Linked DNA regions of Homo sapiens: all the other regions are linked to region 1. The links are contacts of gene promoters, found by promoter capture Hi-C in blood cells and fetal thymus (Javierre and others, 2016). All regions are on one chromosome and are shown on one strand. Each heading gives the region's core, a stretch centred on a gene start or on the middle of the fragment in contact. The rest is flanking DNA. Distances are from core to core; before and after follow the strand shown.

What was found. Contacts are between HindIII fragments. The CHiCAGO score rates a contact against its expected background, and 5 or more counts as called.
Region 2: a contact is called between a fragment that was not itself captured here and the fragment with the promoter of FBXO8 in region 1, in 1 of 17 cell types (activated CD4 T cells). The highest score is 6.1, in activated CD4 T cells.
Region 3: a fragment that was not itself captured here is called in contact with the fragment with the promoter of FBXO8 in region 1 in 1 of 17 cell types (non-activated CD4 T cells); the score reaches 9.4 in non-activated CD4 T cells.
Region 4: a contact is called between the fragment with the promoter of HPF1 here and the fragment with the promoter of FBXO8 in region 1, in 6 of 17 cell types (non-activated CD4 T cells, naive CD4 T cells, fetal thymus and 3 more). The highest score is 13.2, in non-activated CD4 T cells.
Region 5: a fragment that was not itself captured here is called in contact with the fragment with the promoter of FBXO8 in region 1 in 2 of 17 cell types (naive CD4 T cells and non-activated CD4 T cells); the score reaches 7.2 in naive CD4 T cells.
Region 6: a contact is called between a fragment that was not itself captured here and the fragment with the promoter of FBXO8 in region 1, in 1 of 17 cell types (total CD4 T cells). The highest score is 8.2, in total CD4 T cells.
Region 7: a contact is called between a fragment that was not itself captured here and the fragment with the promoter of FBXO8 in region 1, in 1 of 17 cell types (total CD4 T cells). The highest score is 6.1, in total CD4 T cells.

What each region holds. Positions count from the first base shown.
Region 1 is chr4:174,281,476-174,285,656 of GRCh38, forward strand. FBXO8 (F-box protein 8) reads right to left here and starts at 2,192. Exons shown (of 6, transcript NM_012180.3): 1 at 1,935-2,192. It overlaps CEP44 (centrosomal protein 44), which reads left to right and starts at 2,436. Exons shown (of 12, transcript NM_001040157.3): 1 at 2,436-2,468. RefSeq lists an enhancer at 2,387-2,636 and a silencer at 2,401-2,668. The HindIII fragment of the contact is 4,999 bases long and covers 1-4,181 here.
Region 2 is chr4:169,598,409-169,602,589 of GRCh38, forward strand. It overlaps NEK1 (NIMA related kinase 1), which reads right to left. Exons shown (of 36, transcript NM_001199397.3): 3 at 4,106-4,181; 4 at 3,600-3,696; 5 at 692-789. Among named protein-coding and RNA genes, the nearest start is that of NEK1, 12 kb to the right of the region's middle. The HindIII fragment of the contact is 2,128 bases long and covers 864-2,991 here.
Region 3 is chr4:169,631,413-169,635,593 of GRCh38, forward strand. All of the region lies in intron 1 of CLCN3 (chloride voltage-gated channel 3), which reads left to right. Among named protein-coding and RNA genes, the nearest start is that of CLCN3, 13 kb to the left of the region's middle. The HindIII fragment of the contact is 6,464 bases long and covers 1-4,181 here.
Region 4 is chr4:169,755,570-169,759,750 of GRCh38, forward strand. It overlaps HPF1 (histone PARylation factor 1), which reads right to left and starts at 2,375. Exons shown (of 8, transcript NM_017867.3): 1 at 2,261-2,375. The coding sequence starts at 2,308. LOC107986240 (a long non-coding RNA gene) reads left to right here and starts at 2,494. Exons shown (of 3, transcript XR_001741529.2): 1 at 2,494-2,655. RefSeq lists an enhancer at 2,223-2,292. The HindIII fragment of the contact is 1,294 bases long and covers 2,162-3,455 here.
Region 5 is chr4:170,019,356-170,023,536 of GRCh38, forward strand. All of the region lies in intron 1 of MFAP3L (microfibril associated protein 3 like), which reads right to left. Among named protein-coding and RNA genes, the nearest start is that of MFAP3L, 4.9 kb to the right of the region's middle. The HindIII fragment of the contact is 7,338 bases long and covers 1-4,181 here.
Region 6 is chr4:177,456,168-177,460,348 of GRCh38, forward strand. The region is part of intron 1 of AGA-DT (AGA divergent transcript); the gene reads left to right. It also overlaps the pseudogene RNA5SP172. Among named protein-coding and RNA genes, the nearest start is that of AGA-DT, 13 kb to the left of the region's middle. The HindIII fragment of the contact is 4,157 bases long and covers 23-4,179 here.
Region 7 is chr4:177,320,383-177,324,563 of GRCh38, forward strand. NEIL3 (nei like DNA glycosylase 3) reads left to right here. Exons shown (of 10, transcript NM_018248.3): 2 at 2,077-2,198. Among named protein-coding and RNA genes, the nearest start is that of NEIL3, 13 kb to the left of the region's middle. The HindIII fragment of the contact is 274 bases long and covers 2,190-2,463 here.

The DNA.
Region 1 (4,181 bases), core at 942-3,441:
CGCTTGAGCTCAGGACTTCAAGACCAGCCTGGGCAGCACAGTCAGACAAAAAAATTAAAAGAAATAACCACACGTGATGGCGTGTGCCTGTGGTCCCAGGTACTCTGAAGGCTGAGGTGGGAGGGAGAATTGCTTGAACCTAGGAGGTCAAGGCTACAGTGAGTCTTGTTCGCACCACTGCACTCCAGCCTGGGCAACAGAATAAAAATCTGTCTCAAAAAAATACTTGCCCCAAATATGATATAAATTTATTCAAGTCAGCCAAAAATGTTTTAGTTTATTAGAGAGCTAAGTCAAGAAATTTGTCAGAAAAACAAAACAATGAGAGCAAAACGAAAAAGAAATAGTGAACATAAATTTCCAGAAATAGATGTATTTCATTTAAATTGTTTAAAAAATTATTTAAGTAAAATAATTCAAGAAAAAGAAACAGAAATTAAATGCATAATTCTTAGACTTTAGTATTAATGATTTTGATGCATTATCATGGGTCAGTCAATGGAATAGTGCCAGTTTCCAAATCTGAATCAAAATGAGGAAAAAATTAGTTGTACATTAGCAGTTGGTTAAATAATAAACCATAAAGTTACAAATCTGAATGACTAATTTCAACACACTGTGATTAAAGATTTGGTAATTCAATGTTTTTATATTGTAAAATGAGGAAGATATCTTTTAACCTAGCAACAGTAAACACACAAAACATTCCCCATTAAAGTGACCATATGTAATAAATTATGATCAATGTTTTGGCTTATCTAGAAGTTACTATAATATTTTGTGGATGGAAGTAATTGATCCAAGGGCCCCAAGTAATATTAGTTAATTTGCTGTAACTTATTATTAAATGAAGTTACGCTGCACCCTAATTCCTGATGTACAGAAACTGATAATATTTGTTGTTTTAAGCTGGGGTAAATTTGGGGGTAATTTGTTACCCAGCAATAGACAACTAATGAAGTACCTCATCAGACATATTGTCAGGTTAATTGGCTAAAGATGAATTTCTGACCCAATATGAAAAAAATAATAAAACTTATGCATTCTTTATTCTGAAACCTACTCTGTTTCACATATCATTTTCGTGAAGGGTAGAGTTGAGAAGTGTGTAGAGCTCCTACCTCAGAAATACATTACTTCAAACATTAAAAGAAGGAAGAGGAAAGCTGAAATAGAAAACATAAATTGTCTTCACTTTACCGTAATAAAAATCATGATATATTCATTTGTGGATATACACCTAGGAGCCTTGAAAATGAATATTTTACTTGTAAAACAAGTAGAATCAATTATTTTATTAGTAAATTCATACAGAACCTAAAAATAAAACTAAAAAAATTAAATGACTGAGGATTGGGATCCATTTATGTGATTTTGCCAAATAAATATTGAGAACCTTCTACGTAAGAGATTAGAACCCAGTCGCTGAGAAACAAATAAAAGACAAGTTTGACAAGTTTTATAACCCAAGTTTGACTACTGTAGCAGCTAGCAATCCATCGTGATCTTAACTATACTTGTGTTTGCATTCATATTACTGGAAAGTGGTAAAGAACCAAAAACTGTCTAGGAACCAAAATAACACTCGACCCGAAAACCAACACTTGGACCTGAAGAAAGTAACCCTTGTCATTTCTCAGGTTTATTTCACAATGACGCTGGGTTACTACTTGGAGTCCTAAACCGAACTACACCCCAATGGCCTAGAAACAGAAGGAACACACCCAGTTCCGCCTCCTGACAGTGATTCCTCACTTTAATGAGCCACCACTACTGTCACTCAAGATGCTTCGCACTGTCATTGGTCGCAAACTCTTGCTGGTCGGCCAGTTTCGGCCAACTGGCAAGCACTGGTTGTCTTTATTTTCGAGAAAAGTGAAGGTGAACAGGGAAAAGAGACAAGAGATCTAAAATATCTAGGTTGACTCCTGTACCTGAGCGACCTGCGATCTCCACCGCCGCCGCGACGAATTGGCCTCTGGGCGGGGACTTTTAGCCAAAAGGAAAATGGCTCAGCCGGGAACTGGTGCCCAGGCCATGGAGAAGCTGATTCAAACTTTACTTGTCCACACCGGTAGAGGTGACCGCGATGAGAATACCAGAAACAGCACTACGACCCTCAGAACTCAGGGTACCTCCAGCTGCAGGGGCCAGAACTGCCGACTATCCCAATTTTGACGTTTCCTATTGTTGCCGGAAGTGACGTTAGGCTCCGACTCTTAACGGAGACGCATTTTTATTTCTGTTGTTTACGATTCGCTATAGATTCCTTGTTTCTCACTTCGTAGCACGAGCCACTCTGACCATCAAGATCAGAAAAACTTCTCAGCTGCAAGTTAGAAGTGGACTGGCCATTGAGGAGGCTCTCAGCGGAGTCGCTCTTCACAGGAGTCTTGAACGCGGTGTGGAATCGGCAGCGAGGAATCCTGGAGCACAGAGAAGCTCCCAGCTTTGAAGGTCTTGCGGTGGTGCGTGGCGGGCAGGAACCCACAATTCCAAATACAAACGGTCGGCGCGAGAAGCGCTTCTGGGCGCAGGCGCCTGGCTGTAGCGACTGGTTGCGGGAGGCTGGACTCTGGTGACTGTGTATGGTTGCATATGCTCCGTTTTCCTCTCCCTGTCGTGCTGGGCCTTTGAAACCGGCTTCTTTGCTGGTGGCTGCTTGGTGAGCCCCGAGGAGACGGCAAGGCTGCGCCTGGTATTGGGCGGAGGTCGCCTCTCTCCGCCGTCCTTACAGAGACCCCGGGCGGAGACGAATGACCAGATCCGCCTTTTCATTCTTTTAAATCAAATGGCGGGAGGGGAGCCTTGCTTATATACCCAACTAGTATATGCTTTTAGTCACAACGAAGTGGGAAGTATCGTGGTAGCTCATCCTATCAGAATTAGGTTGTGACTTAGGGTTGGAAAGTTATAGGCTTACTGATTCCTATTGGATCCTCTGGGGTGAGGATACAAACGGCTCCTGACTATAAGGAAGACAGGACAGCAGTTCGTGTTTTCCTTGTTGGCATTTCCCCAGCTTTTCAAATATTTCTCCACCTTTATTGAAGGCTACAGATTTTTCCCTCACTGTAACAAGTTAATCTTGAAGTTGTTATTCTCTTTTACTCTGGAATTATGGCCATGCTAGACTGTTTTTTTCCCGAATTATCTGCAGACCTTTTAATTTTATGTGTGAACACAGCAGTCCCGTTGAACTCTTTACTTGTCCCTTACTCCTCCCCACTCCCGCCCAGCTTTCTCGATGCTTTGCCTTTCTCAGACCTTTCTCCTATCTCTTAGAGAAGTATTTCCCTAATATCTTTTGCAGTTTCATAAACTGTTTTTCTCATCTTTACTTTTTTGTTTTTGATACGTGTTTTTAGATAATATCGAGCATTATGTGCTATGTCACAAACTCTTAGCCATTGACTGTTATTAGAGTCAGTGTAGTTGCTTCATTCTAAACAAAAATCACTCTGGTCCAGTGACATTCTATTGGGAGGCATTGTTTTAATGACCTCTAACAGCAATGAGATTGAGCGATGTTGAAAATCCTAAACTGCTAGAGTACACTATTTTCACAACCTCTCCCACAAGTTCAATTGCGCAGATCTGACTTGTAGACAAGGAAGGAAGCTAGAAAGGAATATTGAGAGCTTCTTTATTATTGAATCTATGCTGCAAGCTGAGTGGTATCTCCTTTTTTCCTTAGTTTGCCTTTGATCAGTGCTATAAGTTGAAAATGTTAAATTTTTAAAAGTATTTTTCATTAATGAAAGTAAGGTGTTAAAATGTACATAAGTAATAGATTGGCTTCTTTTAATGTCTTGTTTTTAAGGCTTTTGAATTTTATAGTAGACTTAGTAAAGCCCTTTGTGAGAATGTAGAGCAGTAGCTGTAATTTTATTCTGTGATAATCCCAATTTTAAATCCCTTTATTTTTCTGTCTCCTATCACTTACCTCGTTCACGAGCTCTGCTTGTATTACTCTTCAAAATATTTATTCACTGGTACTGAAGAGAGACATAACTTTGTTGTCAGAAATTCCATTATCAGAGGTAGAAATCATGTAAGAGACACTGAAATGTTTTCCAAAATGTCAGAAAAAGGAAAGGTGAGAAGATATCATAAAGTGTTACGTAAAACAGAATTACTTGCACTGGGAAAATGGAATATACATCTGGAAGGACTAAAGG
Region 2 (4,181 bases), core at 678-3,177, 4.7 Mb before region 1:
AGTTATGGAAAATTTAAAGAAGCTGGGACTTGAACTGAGCTTAAAAAAAAAAGGTAGAGTATTAATAACAAAGTTTGGGGAAAAGGCTTACCAAAATAAATGAAATAATCAGAGTAAATACACAGGAAGGAGAATGAGATGTACAAACATGTGGCCCGGTGCCTAACACAAAGCACATGCTCAATAAATATCTGTTAAAGCAAATGAAAAGAGGTACAGATTAGGGAATAGAAAAAAATAAGGCTGCTTAGGTAGGGAACGGCCATATTTTAGAGATCCTGGAAATCAAAAGAGAGATTAGATTTAATGCAGTTGTCGGTGCAAGGCTTCTAGAGCTGGAGTTACCTGGCAAAGCCACATTTTAGGAATATATAGTCTGGCAGCAGTAAGCCAGATTGACAGAATATAGACTAGTCAGTTATAATGAATAATTAAGGCATATACATAGACGCATGATATATATAACATACATCACAGAGATAACAATATATCATTACAGACTATAAATGAGATGGGCAACTGAACAAAGGTGGCAGCTAATTAGAGGTAAATATGAGTAAACTATTGATATACTAAACTTCCCTAGTAATTTTGATTAGCATTTGTAGTTAAAAACAAATACACACATAAACAAATTTTGAACTACTTCTCAATAATAGAGTAAGAGTCAATTTCCTAAATGCAAACTTACCTGATCCTCTTGAAACAAAACGCCTTTCTGAGCATTTATTCGCTTAAACAGATCCCCTCCCTCACAGTAATCCATTACTATGTAGAGAGAGCCATTTTCTACAAAATATAAACATTACAGTCCACTTTTAAAAACGTACATCAAAAGCATGGCTAAATTAAAAGTACTTAAAAGCTTACTAAAAAGCAGCTGCTGAACAAAAAACAGGACCATACTCAAAAGAATTAGGGCACAAAGTCAAGGTATACCGGTCACAAAGATTGTATAATGACTTAGGTTAACAGAAAACTCCATCATTAATGATTTCTATTAAAAATACACTATTTTATTGAATAGTGCTGTTTGCATTGACCTAAACATCTCTGAAATATAAACAAAATGCAGACATACTTGATTTCATTCAATAAATACAATTCCTTAAATGTCACACATAAAATCATGTTTTTCCACCAATATATCACATCAGAGATGGGTTATCTTAGTTTTCTGACTGGCCATTAATTCTCTGCTTTGTTTTATCCACTTTAATCACTTACTTATTAAATAAATAAAATAATAAGTGTTGTGATAAACTCTGAGGATTCAACAGTGTATAGGATACACTGTTTCCACCCTCTTTGAGCTTTCCTTAATTTTATGCACTTTTTAAAAAATTGCATATGATTTGTGAACAAACATGAAGATGGGCACTGCCCCATCCACCTTTATGTCTCGGTCCACAAAGAAAGGTACTTCTGTGCTTCTTCCTATGGATAGAAAGGACTACAAGAATACTTCTTTTTTTTATTTAGGCTTTTTTTTTTCTTTTAAGAAAAAGTGTCTCAATATTTTGCTCATGCTGACCTTGAGCTCCTGGGCTCAAGGGAACCTCTCGCCTCAGCCTCCCCAATAGCTAGGACTACAAGCCCATGCTACTGTGTCCAGCTTAGAAGAACACTTTGATGATTCTTTCCATCCCTTACTTCTTAAGTAAGGAAGAGTGGCCAATATCACTTTTAACATTTTCTGAATCACTACATAGTACTGAGACTATCACAACTCAAAGAACAGTTTTCCTAGTTCTCACTTCTTTCACTGACTGTGCTATGGCCTTATTTCCAGCAGTATTTTTTTTTTCTTTTGAGACAGGGTCCAGGTTAGAGTGCAATGGCACGATGATGGCTCACTGTAGCCTCGACCTCCCGAGCTCAAGCAAACCTCCCACCTTAGCTTCCAGAGTAGGTGGAACCGCAGGCACACACCACCACACCTGGCTAATTTTTTAAATTTTTGTAGAGATGGGGTCTACAAACACCCTATGTTTCCCAGGCTGATCTCAAATTCCTGGGCTCAAGAGATCCTCCCACCTCAGCCTCCCGAAGTTGCTGAAATTACAATTGTGAGCCACCGCATCCAGCCTCCAGGAGTATTTATTTCTTATACTTTGTGGTGACATTCTTGTCACTCGTGGTGCACATATCTTCTTTTGATCTACTGTTTGTAATGTGCCACTGGGATAAGAATCTATATGATAAAGCTAATTAAGAATCTGTATGACTTTTTATGATTGACCTGGAAAGATCATCCAAATATACATGTGAGAAATTATAATGTGAAAAAAACTCCTGAAAACTATAATTCACTATTTATATGTATATAGATGTTATAATGTATGTAGCATAACAAAAAGCAAAAAATTACATATACTATGCTATCATTTATGTTTGATGCTAGCATGTATTCTTCTAAAACTAAGAGAAATAATAAAGCCTTATTTTTAAAATACGCTACCCCTTTTGAATCACACAGATGTTTCTATGTGAAGCAGTCAATATAAATCCAAAACATCTGCTGGAATATTTGCTCAAAACCTTTTAACTTGAAATATTAAAATTTTGTTAACAACAACAAAAAAAGAAACTAAAGGATAGATGCCAGGAGAAAGATAAAGGAAAATTCAAGGTCCTGAAAAGGAAGAGTTGGTTAATTTTGTACTCTTTCACATGAAATATAAATCTTCATTTCACTGCCAGCATAAAAAATACAGTACCTTGTGACATAATGTATTAATTGAATCACATTTTTATAAAAGTAGAAGAGACTTATAGTAGACACAGAGTTCATCTGGGAATGTAGTAACTTTAGCTCTAATTCAGACTCTGAAACTGGTATGTGATATGTCCCTGAGTCATTTCAATTATCTTCTACTTTCAATCTAGATTACCTGGTTTTTAGTTTACAGAAATTAAGTTACAGAAATTTATAATAATGAGAATATTTGGGTAGGACTTCAATAAACCACTTTGACCTGCCTTTAGAGAAGCTTTGCCTTATCTTAATACCTGCATTATTAAATATAATGCATATAGTTCCAAAACAGCATTATAGCTATAATACTTTAAGAACCTGAGAAAACTTTCAACATACCTCACTATTATAATAGTGAGGTACAGAGGAGCATACTGAGTGAGGATACTTTCTAAAGATCAGAACATTTTCTCAGTGGTAGTGGTGGCAGCACTTACAGGAAGTTCAGTTAAAAAATATGTAAATTACTGTTCTTGCTCTGTCCAAATTCTTGCACTTACTGCATTGCTTCTTTTAAAGCAATCACTAATAACAGCCAGTATTAAATTATACAGGCACAGTTGGGAGGCTGAGGCATAAGAATCACTTGAACCTGGGAGGCAGAGGTTGGAGTAAGCCGAGATCATGCCCCTGCACTCCAGCCTGGGCCACTGAGCGAGACTGTCTCAATTTAAAAAAAAAAAAAAATGCAGGCATGATATCAGTATTGTCCTTGAATCAAGCTGATATTCATATGCGTATGTTTTTAAGCAAAAATGGTATCTTTTTCCTAAGAATGCATTCACAAAAAGATTTATTAATGTCTTAGGATTTTTTAACTCTCTCGCATAATTTATCTGACCTTCAAATGATTCTCTATACTGGACAATATTTGGATGCTTCATGTTTGCCAATACTGCAACTTCTCTCCTTGATTCTTCTCTTTCTTTACTGGACATCTTAAATGGGAGGAAAAAGAAAATAGTAAATGAAACCATTAATAAACAACCTAAAAGTCCATCAATAGGTGAGTGGTTAAAACATAATAGTATTAATACAGTTCAATCAACAAAATATAGCAAGAAGTTAAAAAGAATGAGTTGAATCTGTAAGTAGAAACATTTTAAGATGTCCAAACTAGATTAGGTTACAGAACAGCAAGTATATTTTTCTAAACACATAAACATAAGCACATATCATAGAAAAAATCTGAAAGAATATATAGGCTATTCTGATATTAGCGGGAATAAAGGAGTCTTTTGCTTTAGGTTATCGATTACTTTTTTTTTTTTTTAAAGAAAATCTCTAACAATGAGCTCTATTGTAACTAAACCATTACTCATGAAACCAAACTAAAAATATACTTACTCTTGAGATGTTAATTTCCTTGATAACATACTGTCTGCCATCTTCTGTAGATTTAACAAGAATGGCTTTTCCAAAT
Region 3 (4,181 bases), core at 446-2,945, 4.7 Mb before region 1:
AGTAGCTGGGACTACAGGCGCCCACCACCACGCCCGGCTAATTTTTTTTGTATTTTTAGTAGAGACGGGGTTTCACCATGTTAGCCAGGATGGTCTTGATCTCCTGACCTCGTGATCCGCCCACCTAGGCCTCCCAAAGTGCTGGGGTTACAGGCGTGAGCCACCGCGCCCGGCCGTCTTTGCCCACTTTTTAATAATGTTGTTTTTTGCTTGTTGAATTGTTTGCTTCTTGTAGATTGTAGATATTAGACCTTTGTCAGACGTTAGCTAGATTAACAGAGAAAGAGACAAGATCCAAATCACCACACAATCAGAAACAACAAAGGTGACATTACAACCAATCCCATGGAAATACAAAAGATCCCCAGAGACTATTATGAACACATCTGTAAACACGAACTAGAAAATCTAGAGGAAATGGGTAAATTCTGGAAACAGCCTCCCAAGATTAAATCAGGATGAAATTGAAATCCTGAACAGACCAATATCGAGTTCCAAAATGGAATCGGTAATAAAAAATCTACCAACCAGAAAAGCCCTGGACCAGATGTATTCATAGCTGAATTCTATCAGATGTACAAAGAAAGCTGGTACCAATTCTACTGAAACGACTCCAAAAAATGAGGAGGGGCTCCTCCTTAACTCATTCCAGCTTCACCCCGATACCAAAACCTGGCAAAGACACAATGAAAAAGGAAAAGTACAGGTCAATATCCCTGATGAACATAGATGTAAAAACCTTCAACAAAATATTAAGAGAGTGAGTTGTTAAAGAGAAGAGGGTATGATCCAGGCAGAGGGAGCAACAAAGGCCTTGGGGCAGGAGTCAGGAAAGAGCTTGATAGGACTGAGAGATTGAAAGATCAGTGAGTCTAGAGTACTTCAGGAAGTACATACTTCTCAAAGTAAGATATACAACTGGCCAACAAGCATGTGAAAAAATGCTCAACATCACTAATGATTAGCGAAATGGAAATCAAAACCACAGTGAGACACCATCTCACGCCAGTCAGAATGGCTATTAAAAGAAGCTGGGGCCAGGCGCGGTGGCTCAGGCCTGTAATACCAGCAATTTGGGAGGCCGAGGCGGGCGGATCACGAGGTCAGGAGATTGAGACCATGGTGAAACCCCGTCTCTACTAAAAACACAAAAAATTAGCCGGGCGCAGTGGCGGGCGCCTGTAGTCCCAGGTACTCGGGAGGCTGAGGCAGAAGAATGGCCTGAACCCAGGAGGCGGAGTTTGCAGTGAGCAGCGATCGCGCCACTGCACTCCAGCCTGGGTGACAGAGCGAGACTCCATCTCAAAAAAAAAAAAAAAAAAAAAAAAAAGTGCTGGGGAACTAGCAGGGGTTGGGCTGCATAGAACTTTTTCTGCTATATTAAAGAGTTTGTTTCTTAAGGGTAGCAGGAAATGATTAAGAGATGTTAACATGGAATGGAGAGAGATTATGAGCAAACTTACTTTTTGGAAAAAAAAACTGTGCTGGCTGCAGTGTCATCAGATTCGAAGGAAGCAAAATAATTGCACGTAGATAATATAGGAATTTATTAGGTAAACGAGGCCTTATTACTGGAAGTTTTCATAGTTTATCTCTGATTATTATTATTACTTTGTTTGAGACAGAGTCTCACTCTGTTTCCCAGGCTGGAGTGCAGTGGCATAATCTCAGCTCACTGCAACTGCCGCCTCTCTGGCTCAAGCGATTTTCATGCCTCAGGCTCCTTAGTAGCTGGGGTTACAGGCGGCTGCCACCACGCCCGGCTAATTTTTTATTTTTAATAGAGATGGGGTTCACCACCATGGCCAGGTGGGTCTTGAGCTCTTGACCTCAAGCGATCCAGCTGCCTCGGCCTCCCAAAGTGCTGGAACTACAGGCATGCGCCACCACACCCAGCTTATCTCTAATTTTTATAATTTTGTAAGAATATATTTACAAGCTACTGTGTATCTATTACAATGTTTTGAAATGATTATAAGTATATTTTTGGTGATTAAAATGGAAAAGGTGACTTTGCATTATTTTTTTTAAATATGTAAAATTTCATCTGCTGTGTTAGAGTCTAAATAGCCTTTTGTGCCCAAGCCTGGGAATTGGGTTTAGAACCTGAAAATATTTAACACTAGTGTTCAGATTTCCTTCTGTTATATGTCCTTTATGCTACTATAGAAATTTGAATATTTTATAGCAGTGCTGTTCAATAAAAGTGTTAGTGCTGCAAATGCAAGCCACATAGGTAATTTTTAATTTTTCAGTAGCCACATTAAAAAGGTAAAAAGAAAGTGGTGAGATTCATTTCAAATATATTTTATTTAACCCAATGGATCTAAAATATTTCAACATGTAATCAGTATAAAATTTCTAGTCAAATATTTGACATCCTTTTTAAATATTAAGTCTTAGAAATCTGGTAGGTATTTTACACTTAGAGCACATTTCAGTTTGGACCAGCCATGTTTCAATGGCTCGATAGCCGTATGTATGCTGGCTGCTGCATCAGTCAGTACAGCTCTATAGGTTTCTGGGTTAATACGTGGAATAGTTTTTTTTTTTTATCTTAAGTTATCAAATTTATAGAAATAGAAACCCATGCAGGCCTGGGTTTAATTGGTTTATTTGGAGCAGAGTTGCATGCTTGTGTTACAAAGAATGATCTGCAGGCTAGGTGTCTCAAAGGTATTATGAAATTAATTTTTTTAACGGAAATAGTTAAATTTCCAGTTACCACTTACGATTTTTGAGAGACTTTTAGGGATAAAATGGAGGAGATATATTGGAATTTGCTGATTGAAGTATTAACACATAAAAAGGTTTAATGATTTTACAGAGATTTCTTAGTGCTGTGTAGCCTCTAGCTAATGTTCACTGAAATGTTATCATATGTATTAAGCCCTTCTATTCTGTAAAGAAATAAAAACAGAGTGTCTGTGTTCTTCACAAAAATCTTAGCATACATGCTTTGATACATCAAAATTAAATGATTCTTAAGCTATTAATGTTTATGTTTTTAAAAGCCTTTTGGTAATTTTCTCAAAAGCCACATAATATTTAATTTGTTTGCCTCTATGGAACTGCAGATTTCTTAGTATGAACAACTACTTTCATACTTTCCTATTGTTTTAATTAATATACTCTAACAAATCTCATCTCAGTATAATATGCCATCTTTGGTAGCGATAACTATAAAACATTCATAAAGTTGCAAAGCAGCAAGTATTTACATTTTTCTTTTTTAATTTGCTAATTTTGGTTATTCCTCCAAGAACAGTTTAATACTCTTGGAGAGAGGATTTTTTTTTAAATTGAAAACTGAATACATTTCTCTTTTTGACCTCATTAATTGAATAGTTTGACATTTGTTGTTCTTACACTGTGCCAGTCATTATGCCAGATGTGGAGAGCAGAGGCATGCTCTCAAGGAGCTCTCAAAACTTCACCTTTTTCAAAGTGATCTTTAAGTTAGGAAATTTATATAATCTGTTTAAAAGATATTTATTGTCAGTAATAGTCTAGTTTTCTAAAACTTCATAAATACCTTTTTGTTATTAAAGCTCTTTGAGGTTATCTTTCCATTTGCAGAAGGAAAATTTACTGAGTAGAAGAGATTGTCTTAAAACACTCCACGTCTTCAGTGTTAGAATTCACTGCTAGAATTCATCACTGGAATTGAACTGTGCTTACTTTAGTCTTCATCTGTCATTTTCTGTGTGTACTTACTAGGCCATATCTGCTAAGTCTTGTTTTACAAGGCTTACTGGTTTGACTGCTTTTATGACTGCATCTTTCAAGTCCCACCCATGCAGCTTAAAAGTCTATTACTAATGTCCCCATACTTATGTTGAACTCTTATTTTGGTGTTGAGTAAGTAAGTGGAGGTATTTAAAAATCAAACTAGTTAGGAGTAATACAGATTTAAGAATATGGAGAGTAAGAACAATGAAAACATACCCTTTTTTGATTTGTTGCCTGTTACCATTTTATCAGTGGCTAATGTTTGACCATAGGCTCTGAAGATTTAAATTTTAAAAGGATGAAAGGAGAATGAAATAAATATTTTAAAATTTTTTAATTGTAGTATTTATTTTTAAAATCAGGTTGTACTTACACCTCTTACACCTGATAAAATATTCAAAAGGGGCAGTCTGTCTTTCAAACCTTGTACTTCAGCCATCTTGTTCCCT
Region 4 (4,181 bases), core at 1,125-3,624, 4.5 Mb before region 1:
CCTAAGGTCCTGGAACCAATCTCCGTCATTTACCGAATGGTTACTCTATGGCTACACAATATGGACCAACCTATATTCAATATTTTTAATGAGGAAAAAAGCTCTTGATTATATGCAGCATGATAGCCTTTTTATGAAGTTCAAAAACTAAGAATAAATATTGTTTAGGTATACACTCATGGGAGATAAGCCTATTTTTAAAAGGCAAGGGAAAACAAAATTCAGGATAGCTACACTGAAAATAATTGACAGGAAGAAGGCTGAACGGATAGGAGAGGAACACGTGTAGATGTAGAGCTATTGTCTGTTTCAGCTTTGGGATTGGGCAATGGGTTCACTGGTGTTTGTTACATTACTTAACATAAATAAGGTCAAAGACGATCATGAATATGGTAACAGTTTATTATGCCAAGGATTATAATGTGTCTGATTTATAAAAAAAATTACGTTCAACAAAAAGCCTGTTGAACAATGAATCCAAAAGTGAGTATCAATAATAGCAAATAGTAATAGTAAAGATAATATAATAGTAAAAACAAGTAGTTAAGTGATACTTACTGAGAACTTATTTTGTGCTGTTTCACTGTTCTAAGCACCTTCTGTGGATTAACTCATTTAGTCCTCAACTGTCTCATGCACTAGATACCATTAACCTCATCGTACAGCTGAGGAAACTGAGGTTAACCTCCCTACGTCCCTAACTAGGAAGTGGAAGAGAAGGGATTTAAACTCAGGTTTAAATCTGGGTCCACAGCAGATCCTCAACCACTTCACTATGCTGCTTCTCCAACATCAAATATAGAACAGTAGGAACATATGAAGTCCTGAGCTATCCTATCTTCTGTTTTCATAACTGTCTTTGTTCAGACGTTCAAAGACTGGCTCCAACTTAAGATGTTAGAAAAGGCTTAATCTGCCTTGCTGAAAGGCAGTTTTGCATAATAGTTAGGTTGCCTGGGTTGACTCCTGACTCTACTGATTTCCAACCTTAGGCAAGTTACTTAACCTCTCTGTGCTTTGTTTTCTCATCTGCAAAAAGGGCATACAGTGCCTATATCGGGGTTGTTACAAGGAATGTTATTATATGTAAAAATACACAGAACGGTCCTAGCACATAATATACAAATGCTGGCCATTACGGTTATAGTCTCTACAGACTCATCTTCATTTCTGTTATTGTATTTCTAGTTAAGCACATCACTCCACCAAAGCAGTTCTTCACTGCACCTTCAAAAAGAGAATTTTTTCAGCTGTGCCTTTACTCACACACTAGTTCAGCATCTCCATAGCCCTAACAACTAGGATTTAGAACAGCTGTCCCCTTCAGAGGCTACACTTCTTCTTTACCCTGGTCTTCCTAGAATGCATGACCCAATATGAAGGATGCCTATACCGATGGCCCTTTAACAGTTAGTTAAGCCCTCTAAGAATGTCTCACCCTGTCCGATTTATGACACTACCAGAGTAACTTTTCTAAAACTTTAGTTATCACAATGGCACTTCTTTCCTGATTCCCCTTATTGCTACTGTAGTGGTTACAGAACTTCCGAAATCGTAGTAAAGTATGAGAATGCACACACTCTCTCCTCCTCCCCTCTCAGTAGTGCTTTTATGATCAGGTCCCTCTTATTTTCCCATTTCCCTGGCTCCAGCCAAGCCGAACGCTCCGCTACGCCCAAACATCTCCTACAGTTTTATGTCTCAGAATCTTACTTCTCTGCCTTCAAAACCAATTTTCAAAGAGTTGTCTTAAAAGTCTTCTTTAACACCCCCTGGGACTTGTTAAATCCTCCTTCAGTGTTTCCATAGCACTTTCTACACACCAGCGTTATAATCCCAAACAAAAAAGTCACAGTAGAATGCATATTTGCTTGTGCCCCTCCTCCCCAGGCCGAGGGCTCAACAAGCAGCAGGAGCAAGCAGGTTGACCCCCAAATCCGCAGCGCCCCACAGAATGTCAGGTATGTAATCGGTTCCCAATCAATCTGGCTGGGCGAATGAACCATTGGTTGGCTTAATCCGTTTCCCCAGGAAATGCTCCAAGAGGAGCTGGGCAGAAGATGCAGAGGAGCTACTTTCCTGGTCCAACCCCCTGCAGAGCGCGAAACAGCGGCCCTGGGCAGGATCCCCGCAGCAAACCGCAGCCCCTGGACACACAGCAAGCTTAATAGTCACTGGATGAATGAAAAGCGCTGCCTCCTGGTGCCCTGGCTGTCACCCAAAGCGCCCCGCGTAGCCCGCACAGCCTTTCCGGCAGTACCTGCGGCCCCTCTCCGCCGGGCCTGCGCTTCCCGCCACCGCCGACCATTCTGCAGCTGCAGCGCCAGCAGAATTCCCCGATCCGCGGCCGCTTCCGAGCGCCGCCAACCGCTTCCGGGTTCAAAAGCCTCCAAGCCGAATTTCAGCGCCGCCCGGGCTCGCCAATTTAGGGGAAAGGCTCCGCCCATTCCCCGCCCCCTGAGACCTGGCACCGGACGCGTTGAGGCCCCGCCCACTCCCGTGCTGGGCGCGTGCAAGGAGCGTCTTCTGTCAGCGTAGTCTGCATCTAGGCTTTCTGGAGCATCTTCCAGGGTCGCTCCAGAGACCCCCCAGACTACTGAATCTGAATCCTTAGAGTGGTCCAACCTTCCTCTTCAGGTGTCTACTAGAGGCAAGGTTGGATGTATGCGGCTGTTCTCAATACAGCCCCTTCCTTGTTTTTTCTTCATTTATATTTACTTAAAATATTAATCCTTTTCTCCTTCTCCTCCATCCCTCTCCCTACCCTACTGTACGGTTATTGGCTTACACTAATTCATTCCCGATTGTCTCCAAGAAGGAAATAAATGTCTGTCGGTCTCTGTCTCTGTACCGTCGTCTTCTTGGTACAATTTGGACTGTTTTTCCTCTACACCGCTGATATGCAAAGTGTAGTCCCTGAACCAGCGGCCTCAGCATCCTGAGGGAATTTGTTAAAACGCCAAATCTCAGGCCTTACCCAGACTTACTGAATCAATATCTGCATCGCAACAAGATCCCCTGGTAATTCCTATGCACATAAAATTTGGAAGGCACAACTCTCAACTGATGTCCTTGGACCTCCTTCACATCCATCCTGGGAAGGTCTTATTCCTCATTCCTGAGATGAGTTCTCTATTTCCTCAATCTGGGTGTTCCTTTTTCTTGATTATATACCCTCATGTTGTGGAACATATCCGCCAATAGTTCCTTGAGAGAGGTTGCTGCCAGGTCTTTTTTCCCACAGAGTGTGCATGTCTGGAAATGTTTTTATTCTGGCTGAGCACAGTTCTAGGTTGAAAATAACTTTCACTCGGAATATTGGAGGGCTTGCTCCGCAATATTTTAGCTTCCAGAATTGTTAAGAAACTATGTCGTTATATTTCCTTCTCCTTCACAGGTCACTAAATTTCTTGATATGTAACCTGCTTTCCTTTCTGTTTTGTTTTGTCTCAAGAAGCTTTAGGATCTTTTCTCTGTTTCCAGTGTTTTTTGTTTTGTTTTGTTTTGTTTTGTTTTTTTTGAGACGGAGTCTCGCTCTGTTGCCCAGGCTGGAGTGCAGTGGTGCCACCTCAGCTCACTGCAAGCTCCACCTCCCGGGTTCACACCGTTCTCCTACCTCAGCCTCCGGAGTAGCTGGGACTACAGGCGCCCGCCACCACGCCCAGCTAATTTTTTTTTTTTTTGTATTTTTAGTAGAGACGGGGTTTCACCGTGTTAGCCAGGATGGTCTCGATCTCCTGACCTCGTGATCCGCCCTCCTCGGCCTCCCAAAGTGCTGGGATGACGGGTGTGAGCCACCGCGTCCGGCCTATTCCCAGTGTTCTAAAACACTATTGAGTGTCTTGGTTATGGGTCTTTTCTCATTCCTATCGACCAGTTTTTCAATCCTGAAACACATGTTCTTCAGTTATGGGAATTCTTCTGGTATTATTTATTTGATCATTTCTTCCCCCCCACCCCCCATCGTATCTCTTCTTTTTTGAAATTTGTTATTTAGATCGTGGACCTTCTTGGCTGATGTTTTTTCTTACCTGTCTGTCCTATTTTCTATGTCTTCATATTTTTATTCTACTTTCTCTGTGACTTTCTCAACTTAATTGGACAATTACTTAATTTCTTTATTATACTTAATAAAGATTAATTACTTAATTTCTGTATTATACCTTTATTTCTCAGTGCTC
Region 5 (4,181 bases), core at 669-3,168, 4.3 Mb before region 1:
GGGCAACATAGCAAGACTTCATGTCTACAAAAAAATTAATTAGCTGAGCATGGTGGCATGCACCTGTAATCCCAGCTACTCCAGAGGTTGAGGTAGGAGGATCACCTGAGCCCAGGAGTTTGAGGCTACAGTGAGCCATGATCATGCCACTGTACTCCAGCCTGGGCAACAGAGCGAGACCTCATCTATATACACACACATATGAAAGGTAGAGACTCGAGAACAGATGGATCCTATCTTGTTAAGAGGTACTGCTTTCGTAAACCGATGAGAATGATTTGAATTAGTCTCAGCCTGCACCTGAACTGGGTGGGTCCCAGAAGTGGACAATTCTGGAGCACTTTATTCTAACCCATTTATTTCCTCAAGGAGCAAACCCTTCCCTTACGATCTTCCTCACACCATCAGCAAACTCAAATCCTCAGTGGAAGGAAGGGGTTGGGATTATACTTCAGTATCTGTTCAGCAAGTTTTCCTCTTTCCTGTTGACTAGAGTCAATTTCAGCACAGCCTCTAAGTAAGTTACAGTCTCAATCCAGAATTAGGAAAGCCCAACCCACAACAACTTTCTTTCAGTCTCATTAGCAAGTCCCCAATGCTTCAGTCCAAAAGCTGAGGGTCCATCAGGGAGTTAATTTCTTCTTTTATGTATCTCTTACAAAGTCTGTGCCCTGTGATAAGGTTCCGACTTCTTCCCTCGCATGTGGTGCTGTGTGTGGGGCTTTGCAGCTCCTCCCTGGCCTGAAGTCCCTTTTGGTTAAGCACAGGCAGTGGAAGTTAGTCTCTCTGGTGCTGCAAAGTCTTGCCTTTGGTAGGAAGACCCCTGAGAGATGCTCAGACCCCACTATCCTCGAGACAGGTGGGCCTTCCACATTTCTGCTGTACCTGAGACAGAATCTGGTTCACTATAAAGACATTGTTTAAAATGTCCCCTTTCCTTCCCTGCCCTGAGAAACATATCAATCACTGAGTTCTAATGATTCTCACTCCTCAATATTGGGCTGCCACATCCTGGGTTTCCCCTGGGTTATGTGCTCATCATCTCTACTGGACTCCTTCCTTGCCGACCTGCCTCTAGTCTTGCCTGCCTCCAATCCACATACCATGTCATTACTAGAGTCAGCTGACTCTGAAAGATCTAAAACATATTCCATGTCTTCGTTGTGTCAACAGTGTGAAACTCAAGTCCTACGCAGGACCTAGGTGATTCTTCACAGTCTGACTCCCATCCACCTCCCTGACTGCATCTCTGGAGCCTCCCCCTCCCCCCTCCCTCCTCCCATTCCCCTCCCTGACTGCATCTCTGGAGCCTCCTCCTCCCATCTCCCCAACCCCAGCAAGTTCTCTTTCCTCAACTCCCAGTAGTTCCCCACGGCACCACCTCCAGCCACGTTCCCTTCCTTACCTTGCACATCTGGCAAACCCCTAGCTTTGAGGTCTTGGTTCAAAAGCCCTCCAAGACTCCCAAGGTAGCCCCAGACACTCCTTTTCTCACCACCCTTTACTCATAACTTCCTATTTTCGCTATAATTATCTTTTTGCACATTTGACCCTTCATTAGATTAAAATCTCAGGTTGTCACTACCTGTTGAATGAATTAATGAATGGATGGAATATGGGCTTGAGAAAGGCTGGACACTGGTGCATGGGTGACTGATGCAGTCATGAGGAAAAATAAGTCACCCGGAAAGAACACAGAGGGCCACAAGCAAGACAAGAGACCCGGGTTAGAACCCAGGGAAAGCAGAGTACAAGCTCTCGGAGAAAGAGCAATAAAAAAAATATTGGGAATAGCTAAGGGCACAGTATTCCAAAGGCCACAGCAGGTGGGCCCTCTGCACTTCTGTAGAGCCTGACACAGATAATCCAATTAATTACATGGGAGTTGTTTAAAATGCCATCTTTCCTTCCCTGCCCACAGATAGAGTACAACTCTACCACTGAGTCCTGGTGGTTCTCACTCCTAAATATCTGGCTACCACAACCTGGTTTTTCCCTATTAAGATTTAAGAGCGAGGGAATGGTTTACACTGACCTAGTACTTTACAATAGAAAACAATTTTTTTTGCATCATTCTATGAGAACATTTGGGTAAAAATCTTATCAAGTCATACAAATGGATGCTAGCTATACAATATAAAGTTTTGTTTTATTAGGATAAATTTTAGTCAAGTCTTACTGTTGTTTCCAGTGTCAGATACTGCTAACCCAGGCCTTCTTTTACCACATTGTCTGAAAAATTTGTTTTTCTTACATGCAGTTCAGTTTCAATTCAAAGCCACTCTTACAACACTAAGATAGAAGAATCCTTCAGTTTAGGTTTTCTGGACACAGAGATGTCAATTTAACCAAGAGACAACACATTTTTGCAAGGTAGATATTGAGGCCTTGTACATAAGAGAGACTAAATGAATATGTTTGAAAAGAATTACTAGATTTCTAATATTCAAACCCAAAAGTTAGTTTATGTAGTATTATAGCTGTCAACTCCCACATCCCCCAACACCAACGTCAAATATGGAGCCCATCGCAAACATTGGTGATTGATTGTGGCACTTTCCCAGCTGAACCAGTACAAGCCCATGACATTGCAAGCAGCTATTACCAACTGGTCAGAGTTGGCCCATGTGAAATCTCATCATTCTCAAGTTAATTATGTTAAATTTTAGCTTTCACAGCTCCTTGCTCACGTGTGCATGGTACGCAGACAGCAGAACAGCTGATTACTGTTAGAGGACAATGAGCAGAAACAAAGTGAAATGTGACTTGCCTCTTCTGCTTTATGATGTCCTTCTTATTGTGAGTAAAAGTTTTAAGCTATTAATTTCATACATGCATACAAATGCTGCCATTTCAGATGAATCCAGAGACCTGAATTACAGCATGCTGGTTCCAGACCTCTACTGGCCACTGACCACCTCTTGTTGGACTTCCTTTATCAAGCTGCCCTGTGAAACCTGGGGTTTAGTTATCCATTGTGTTTTTAGGAAGTAAATCTGGCATCGGTCTGTTCCATTTCATGTTCTGGTTTCCCATATTTTCTCTATAATAGGACAGAATCCAAACTCCTTCACATGACACTGAGCTCATCACAGTAAAAGGACCACTTTGTTCCCCTCCTCCTGCCCTTGCCTATTAGTCCATTGCACCAAACCTTTCAGTGGATATGGCTGTATTTGCTTTCCATGGTTCCTGTAACAGATTTCCACAGACTGAGGGATTTAACATAAATTTATTTTGCAGTTCTGGGGCACGGAAGTTCAAACAGGTCTTAACGAGCCATCATTCAGGTGGGCCCAATGTAATCACAAAGGTTCTTTCACGTGAAAGAGGGAAGCAGAAGTCAGCGTCAGAGTGATGCCCCAAGAGAAAGATTGGACTGGCCGCTCTGAGCTTTGAAGACGGATGGGGCTACAAAACAAGGAATGGGGGTGGCCTCTAGAAGGTGGCAAAGGCAAAGAAACAGATTCTCCCCTAGGGCTTCCCAAAGGAACAAGGCCCTGCAGAGTCTCTGACTTTTGCCCACTAAGACCCACGTTGAACTCCCACACCACAGAAGTGCATTGGGCCCACCTGTATAATCCTGAATAACCTCCCCATGGCAAGACCCTTAACTCAATCACATCTGCCAAGTTCCAAAGTGGACACCTTTGGTGGGGGGCATTATTCTGCCTATCCCAATGATGTTCCTTCTTCCTGGAGTGTCTACTCTGCTTAGAAGACTTCTAATTCTTTGGGCATTCCTTAATGAAATATCATGACTTTTCCCATGGAAATGTCACTCCAAGCATGAGGTCCTCTCCTCCTCCAATCTACGGGGTTCATTTCCCCGCCTCCTCAGTCCCATGTGCATCCCTCTCTGGAGCACTCATCCTGTACTGTGTTTTATTTGTCCTCAAGCATATCTCCCTGACTCGACTGTGACTTACTCTTACTCATTTTTGTGGCCTCAGGAGTCTAACTATAAAAGTTTGTGGAAAAAAAAAATGTGATATTTTAATGAGTAAAGACCTCAGGTGGAAGCAGAGGCAAGACCAATACATTCACAGGACTTCTGTTTGGAGCATAACTTATAAACTACTTCTGATAGCTCTTAAGTGGTTACACCATGACATAATCAACCAAACCCTTTGTAACCATCTTTCAACCATGCCAGGGAGGTATTATACCAAACTTAAAAT
Region 6 (4,181 bases), core at 851-3,350, 3.2 Mb after region 1:
ACCAAATAGTTAAAGAGAATGAAGCTTCTTCAGTCTTCTTCAAATTACATCTGTTCAGGGACAATCTGCTGTCAAATTACCTGGGTTCACACATCTCTCTAGATGACAAAAAGAAAAATCAGGTGATCCATAAAAGCTGAGTAGGAGAGCAAAGTGGTAATTATCCTAATTTCCAGAATCATTATGTCTGGAGATATGTGAAATATGAGAAAGCAACACCGTTTTAACAACAGTCGTTTCTTGTGCTTAGACACACCTCTTTCTCGATTTCGAATGTTTTCAAGGAAAGGACGTTAAAATCCTGCCTTGCCCTTTTGTATGTGTGGCTAATCATGGAGTCCAAGAAGGAAAAAAAACCTGAAAAAGTGAGCCTTCTCCACTGTCTTCAGGCATGTTTGTGTATAACTACCCAATTATGGAATTAATCTATATTACTGTTAAACATCTTCAAAGGAGTAGACTTTTACTGTAACTTACTGCAACATTTTAGTGAATACTGTATAGATTATTTTATCTAAAGCAAATAACACTAGGATATATTAAGTAATGAGTGAGATAGAGTTATGGTATATATTATGTATGTTAGCTATCAAATAATTTAGCCAATATACAGGTAAAATGGTTTCTTCTTTCTTTAAAACTAATTTACTTAATTCTGGCTGGGGTGGTGGCTCAGGCCTGTAATCCCAGCACTTTGATAGGCCAAGGTGGGCAGATCACTTGAGGCCAGGAGTTACAGACCAGCCTGGCCAACATGGTGAAACCCCGCCTATAACAAAAATACAAAAAACTAGCCAAGTGTGGGGCACAGGCCTGTAATCCCAGCTGCTTGGGAGGCTGAGGCAGAAAGAATTGCTTGAACGCAGGAGGCGGAGGTTGCAGTGAGCTGAGATCATGCCACTGCACTCCAGCCTGGGTAACAGAGTGAGATTCTGTCTGAAGAAAACAAAAACAAAACTAATTTATGTAATTCTCCCATCCAAGTACTAACCAGGCCCGACCCTGCTTAGCTTCTGAGCTCAGACGAGAGCAGGCATGTTCAGGGTGGTATGGCCATAGACTAATTTATTTAATTCTATCCCACAGCTACTGATTGGAAAACCAACCTTGTATCTCTAGATGGAACTTTCTTCTGGCAGACACAATTGCTAATTTAAATAAACTAAGAAGTGATTGTGGGTGTGTGTAGAGAAATTATTCAGTAAAGACAACATTTTCTTTTCAAAATGTGTTTAGGGAAAATCTTGTAGGAGGAGTATGTGAATCAACGGAATCCAGAGATAAGTATACTAATGCAAACTTCAAATGCAAACCTTCAGATTTGGCAGTTTATTTTCCTTTTGATTCTACATGCAGAACGCTTAAGTTCAGGACTTGTTTCTAAAGGTTTGAGATGTCTAAGATAAACCACTGAAAGTGGTATATTGTCAAAAAAACTGAAGGGAGATTATATTTCTTTTGCGTGTGTTTGTGGAGGGAAGAGAATTTAAACAAATATTTTTTGGAAGCCAGTCATGGTAGCTTATGCTTGTAAGGCTTATGCTTGTAATCCCAGCATTTTGGGAGCACGAGGAGGGATGTTTGCTTGAGGTTAGGAGTTCAAGACCAGCCTGGGCAACATAGTGAGACTGTCTCTACCAAAAATAATAAGAAAATTAGCCAGGTGTGGTGGTGCATGCTTATAGAGACAGCTACTGGGGAGGCTGAGGTAGGAGGATTGCTTGAGACCAGGTATTTGAGGTTACAGTGAACTAGGATCATACCAGAGCACTCCAGCCCGGGTGACAGAATAAGACCCTGTCTCTACAAAAAAAAAAAAGGTTTTTTAGAATTGGCATCAGGATTATACACTAATTAGCAATTTCTCCAAAATATGTTTTAAAAATCTTATTAATACATTGAATACAAAATAAAGAAATCTCCCCTTTAAATTCTATAGGTGCCTGTACTCTACATTCCATTCCCTGGACTAACTGGGGCTAACAGTAGCAATATAAGCAACTTTGTGGAGCACAGAAAGGCAGGCCTTGATTTCACGGAAATTATTAGTCAAAAGTGAGAAACAACAAGGAGAAAACAAGTTTACCAAAATTCTAAATTTACAAAGGTTCTAAACTCCTACTATGCCTCCTGTTTTTAGATTTTAACTGTTGACAGTTGTTAAATTTGAGACTATTTCTCTTCTCATCTAGAATACTTAAAAAATAATTTTTTCATGCTTTTTTTACTACAAGGTTTTGTACATTGAATTGAAGACAATGAAAAACTAAACTGAAAGTTGCTGCTACTTGGTGTTAGAGGTTTCATTACTTGACTGAAAAAAAATTAATTTTACTGAACTCACCATGCCGCTCCAAAGCCCTTCAGTGATGGCAAATAGCCCCTTCTTCCTTACAACAAAAAGGCTGTAACTGGGAGGGAAAGTGTAAGGAAAACCAATTTTCAGCGACTTCGGCTGTTCACTTTATGTGAATTCTCTTTCTTTTGAAAATGGGAGGTGAGCAAGAATCTCCTGAGTTAGTGAATTTTAAAAATACTTGAAGGTAGGCCGGGCACGGTGGCTCACGCCTGTAATCCCAGCACTTTGGGAGGCCAAGGCAGGTGGGTCACCTGAGGTCAGGAGTTCGAGTCCAGCCTGGCCAACATGGTGAAACCCCGTCACTGCTAAAAATACAAAAATTAGCCAGGCGTGGTGGCACACGCCTGTAATCCCAGCTACTCGGGAGGCTGAGGCAGGACAATTACTTGAACCCAGGAGGCGGAGGTTGCATGAGCCGAGATCGCACCATTGCACTCCAGTCTGGGTGACAAAAGCGAAACTCCGTCTCGAAAAAAAAAGAAAAAAATAAAAATACTTGAGGATAAATATATAATATAATCCCTGTATGGGAAAATGTAAGGGAAAAATGGGGAATGGTGGAAAGTACCCAAGTCAATTAGTGTTCATATTAAGGGACAGGTTGAAGAGTCAGACCTTCTACAATAAAAAAGAGGTTTTTGGCTTATTTTTCATTTTCCTGACTCTGCCATGAGTTTTGGTTTCCCTCTAGGAGATGTGAGGAGCCTAAATATGTCAATATGTCATGTATGTATACAATAACATCATGACGATGAACAGCTACCACATATTGTGTACTTACCAAGAACCTAGTACTATCCTGAGTATTTCATGTGTTAACTTATTTAATCCTCTCACTATTATTATCCATGCTTTATAGGCGAGGAAAAGAAACCCAGAAAGGTTAAGCAACTTGTCCAAATTCTCCCAAATAGTACAGCTAGCATACCAACCCATAATATCTAATTCCAGAAACCACATTATTTTCTTTTAAATTATACTTCTTCCAAACTAATAGGTCATGTTATATTACATAATAACATCCGATTGTGTCTCATAAACAACTAAGACTCAGAATGTACCCACACACCACCCACCTGCACTCTTTCTCCTTAAACAACCAACCAAAGAAATGATTATGTTGAGGATATTTTAAATATGCTAGATTAGTAATCCTCTCATTATTTTTCTTTAAGTAAAATAATTTAAGGAAAGTAACTTGAAGATGATGAAGTGAAAGGCAACAGAATAATTTAGCTTCTAAAATGGGTATTAGAGTACAGAGAACTTAAGCAGCTTTGACTTTAAGAGGGTTACCTAAATTGTAATCAAATGCATTTCAAAAATCCCAAACAGCAAAGGACAAAGTTTCCATATCCATATATACCCTGAAGACAGGACAAGAAGAATTTTGCTCAACAGGTAGGTTTAGTTTAGACATAAATAAATCTTTCCAGGACTCTGTGACCTAAATCAAAGCCATAGAGAATCACTTGGTCACTGTTATCACAACTCATGTACCTGTTAAGGTCAATACTGTATCACTAACATTTCTTCCACCTCTATAATTTTATTGAACCTAACCAACAGTCAAGGTAGATGCTCTGTCCCCCTACTATTCAAACTGATATGACTTGATTATAAGGGCTGTGATACAAATAACTGCTAAAGGTGATTATTTAATCATTGGGGAATTACAGAAAAAGCAGTATGATGAATGCTTGATTCGTGATGGATACTCCAATTTTCCTGATTTGATCGTTATACATTGTGTGCTTGTATCAAAGTATCACATGTACCCCATAAATATGTACAACTAGTATGAATTCATAATAATAAAAAG
Region 7 (4,181 bases), core at 1,077-3,576, 3.0 Mb after region 1:
CTTTGAGGACATGGTGGCATATACCTACAGTCTCCAACAGGTTCTTTTTTTGTGATTTGTGCAGAACAGGAAGTGACTGCTGTCTTTTTTTTTTTTTTTTTTTTTTTTTTTTTGAAACGGAGTCTCGCTGTGTCTCCCAGGCTGGTGTGCAGTGGCGTGATCTCGGCTCACTGCAAGCTCCACCTCCAGGGTTCACGCCATTCTCCTGACTCAGCCTCCCGAGTAGCTGGGGCTACAGGCGCCCGCCACCATGCCCGGCTAATTTTTTTTGTATTTTTAGTAGAGACAGGGTTTCACGGTGGTCTCGATCTCCTGACCTCGTGATCCGCCCGCCTCGACCTCCCAAAGTGCTGAGATTACAGGCGTGAGCCACCGCGCCGGGCCTGCTGTCATTTTTAATTACTCCTGTGCATTTAATTTATCTGTCATTCTAAGCCAGTGATTGATTCTCCAGTTCTTAAACAAAGGAGGGATATATAAAGCCAGTCGCCTGAACTTCAGGCAGTTGGAAAATTCTGGCATTGACTGTAGCTATTTCAACCTTGAATGGGTTTAGTGGAAGAATAGTGTCTGTCTCTTTTTTTTTTTTTTCTTTATCTCCCTGTTATCTCTCTTTGAGCTAAGTACTGTGATTGTATCTTAACAAAGACCAATTTAGTGAAATAAAGAATAGAGTGGACATGTCATCTTAAGCATTTAGAATGACAAATGTCTGTAAAATCAAAAGTTTGAGAATCACTGAACAATATCATTTCACTCTAAATTGAGGAAAAATTGTGACTTGTTTCTAGACTCTGTATCTAAAGCTGTTTTATAATTATATCTTGACATTTCCCCACTCCCACTGCCCACCAAGGTTTCGTTCAGAATCTTCTGAGGATCCTTAGGCCCATTTGAGAAAAACACAAAAGAAGTTAGAGGTAAATGAGGATATTACCTTAGACTGAGTTAATGCGTAGATGTAATTCTGTGTACCCTATTTTATCTTATATAATAATTACGCATGTCTTAAGTTTTACATTTTTATTACATTTTGAGTTTAAATTAAATAATGTTTATAAAACATATATAAATAATAAAAAATAATGACATAAGAAACACCAGTATACATAATGCTCAGTTTAAGAAAAAGGGCATTACTAAAATCTAAACCAAACGCCCTTTCTTTTCTTCTCCCACAGAAGAACCTACATTTTATATTTTTGTTTTCTGTTTAATTCATGTTTATAATTTCCTCGAATATCTTATAGGATTCTGCCTATATGTTGTCATTCTAACAATATATTGTTTGGTTTTGCAAGGCTGATGGGGGAAAGGGAATATGAGTTTATTTTTTCTTTATTCTTAACATTGTGCTTGGAATAGGACAGGTCTCAAATTAGATTCCCCTACTCAGGGGGCCGCAGGTTTTTATCTCTGATCTCCTGCACCCTCACAAGATGTGAAAATTGAAGCTCTCATTCCTTAGTTTCATGTGAAAATTGAAGCTCTCATTCCTTAGTTTCAATCAATGCCCTTAGGATAGATGCTGGCTTCACAGCTCTCCCTACTACCTCTCAGGGTTCTCTCCCGCTTTTAGTTTTTGACCTTTTATTATTTCATACTAGCTTAAAAGTTCATCGGTGAAGTTAAAAATATTTTGTTTTCATATTTTATCATCTGTCATTTGTAGCTGTTTTTATCTGACCACTCTTTCAGGGAACTTGGCTATATACTTCTGGAAATGGAAGAACCTATATTCCAGTTTTTAGTTTTAGAACATTCGTGTTGTATTCCTATGCTTTCTTTTCATATGCACAGAGCTATATGGTCCTGGAAGAAACTTTATTTTGCTTGTCTACCAATTACTTTTTTTCACTTAATTTTTTTGGCCTCTCTCTCTTTAAATGACTGCATAGTGATTTGACAAAATGTATGTAAACAGCCGATTACATTACATGACTTGTTGGAGATTATTCTTCTCATTGGAATGCACCTGGGCGTGAAGTAATATAAACACATTTAAGAATTAAATAATGCTTTTGCTTAGAGTTTGTGTGTGTGTGTGCTTATGTGTGTACATGTATTTTCCACTAGGCTGCTGCACTGAATAATGATTCCAGCCAGAATGTCTTGAGCCTGTTTAATGGATATGTTTACAGTGGCGTGGAAACTTTGGGGAAGGAGCTCTTTATGTACTTTGGACCAAAAGCTTTACGGTAAGATAAGCCTGTACGATACATCTTATCTCTCTATATTTAAAGATGCGTAGAAGGCTAGATGGAGTTTGCCGGGTGTCACATTTAATCATATAGGAAGTACTGTGTTTTTAAGAGAGCTCCAATATGAGAGGTTGTGATTCTATCATGGAAATCAATAAACAGCAGAAGAATAAATTCTGATGTCATCATCACTTGGAAGACAGTCATTTTACAGGGCTTCCCAAGATGTATTAGAGCAACACATCTGTTTTGCTAGTCCCCAAGCTTCCTATACCACAAGTCTCTCCTTGTTTTTACCGAATGCTTATTGTATTCAGTGACATCGGTTACTTTATATTTGTGACAGGCCCTAGTTTGGTTTAAATGTATCACTTGATCTTTAAATATTTTTCTGGCTTCCTGCTTTCTCTGAAGCCTTGAATGGAATTTGGAAATTTACTTAGAGAGTGTAAAAACTTTCCAGAGAAATAACAGGTTCTCCATTGTTTCACAGTTCCCATGGAAATTCATGGCTAATATACTGGCAGAGAAGGACTAGCAACCTATTTCCTTTGTTGACTTAATGATAAAAAAGTCAAAATATATGTAATTGTGATGCATGATCACATGTTTAATTTTTGCAGGAAAATGAAAGCGGCCTTTGAGTTAATATGTCTACCCAATCTCATTCTGTCTTTTCTGAGTTTAGCCTAAGCTTTTGCCAACTGTAAAAATTGATACTGCTTCCTCAAATCGTTTTTAGTGCTGTTTAAAGATACTGACCACAGTTATCACCTTTTTCTTAAAAGAAAAGACCTGTTCCTGGACCCCATGCTAACCAAAGGTGAATAATTGTCACAAAGAGATGATACTATATGATTGTTCTTTATTGCATCTCATCTACCACATATTTAGAGTAATCCAGGGTTTATGTAATTGCTTTTCCTTTGAGGTGTTCTCTTTTCATTGTCAGCAGCTGCTGTCCTTGGACAACATTGTCACTTCATGGTTTTGCTTAGTCTGGAATTGATAACATCAGCATATGCCTAGTTGTTCATGCAGTAATGATATATTGCAGGTTACACTGCTGCTGTAGTAGACTGATGTGATGGAAAACTCATAGCTCTGGATAGAGTAGTACACAATGGGATCTATGCACGATAGTTGAAAACATTGATATGTTATTGATTCTCTGGTGTTAGGTACAGATTTATTTCTGTAAGATGAGAGGGGGTTTTTATCAAGTGCTCTCCACCAGACTGATAAGGGGGAAGTCATTTCTCAGCACACGGCTGTCAGTAAGTGTTCCATGAAGTTCTAAACAAGGACAATCACTTCTTCAAACTCATTGAACTAGTGCCCTCCCTGGAGAGTACCTATGTCAGTATATGGGTGGGAAAAATGCAGTGGCTTGCTTCCTTTCAGTTTCCTGCAGCCATAACAACTATTGGATGTAACAATTCAAGGTCAATGGCAGATCTGCTGTTGGAATCTGAACCTAAAATCATTTGCCCCTCTTTTCACAATGTAACAGAAGTTCAAAAAATGTACTTCCAACCTGTGCTTCTTAGAGGAATGGATAACTCTCTCAAAGAAATGTGATCTTTTTGTGAGGCTGCAGGTCTGTGCACCTGCAATAGAAATGTAGTCTTCATTTTTGACTTCTGCCTCCCACCCACCTGGCTCATCTGCATTTGATAGAGCATATAGCAGGAAACACTTTCAAAGGTTGCTCACAGTTTTCCCTTGATACCCAACTTTTCACAAGCAAAATTGCCCGCAGAGTTTAGTCATAAAGTGTGTGCATCTCATAGGTTGGGCCATGAATCTCCTGGGATTCATTGGTTGAATCTCCTGGGATTCATTTGTTAATGAAAGTAGAATACGAGCATAGCCTCTAAAAGAATCTGCCCTGTAAAAATCCACACATCAGAAAGATACAAATTAGAGAGTGATTACTTCTCTACCTACTAAGTGATATATTCAAGTGCTCCTGATAGT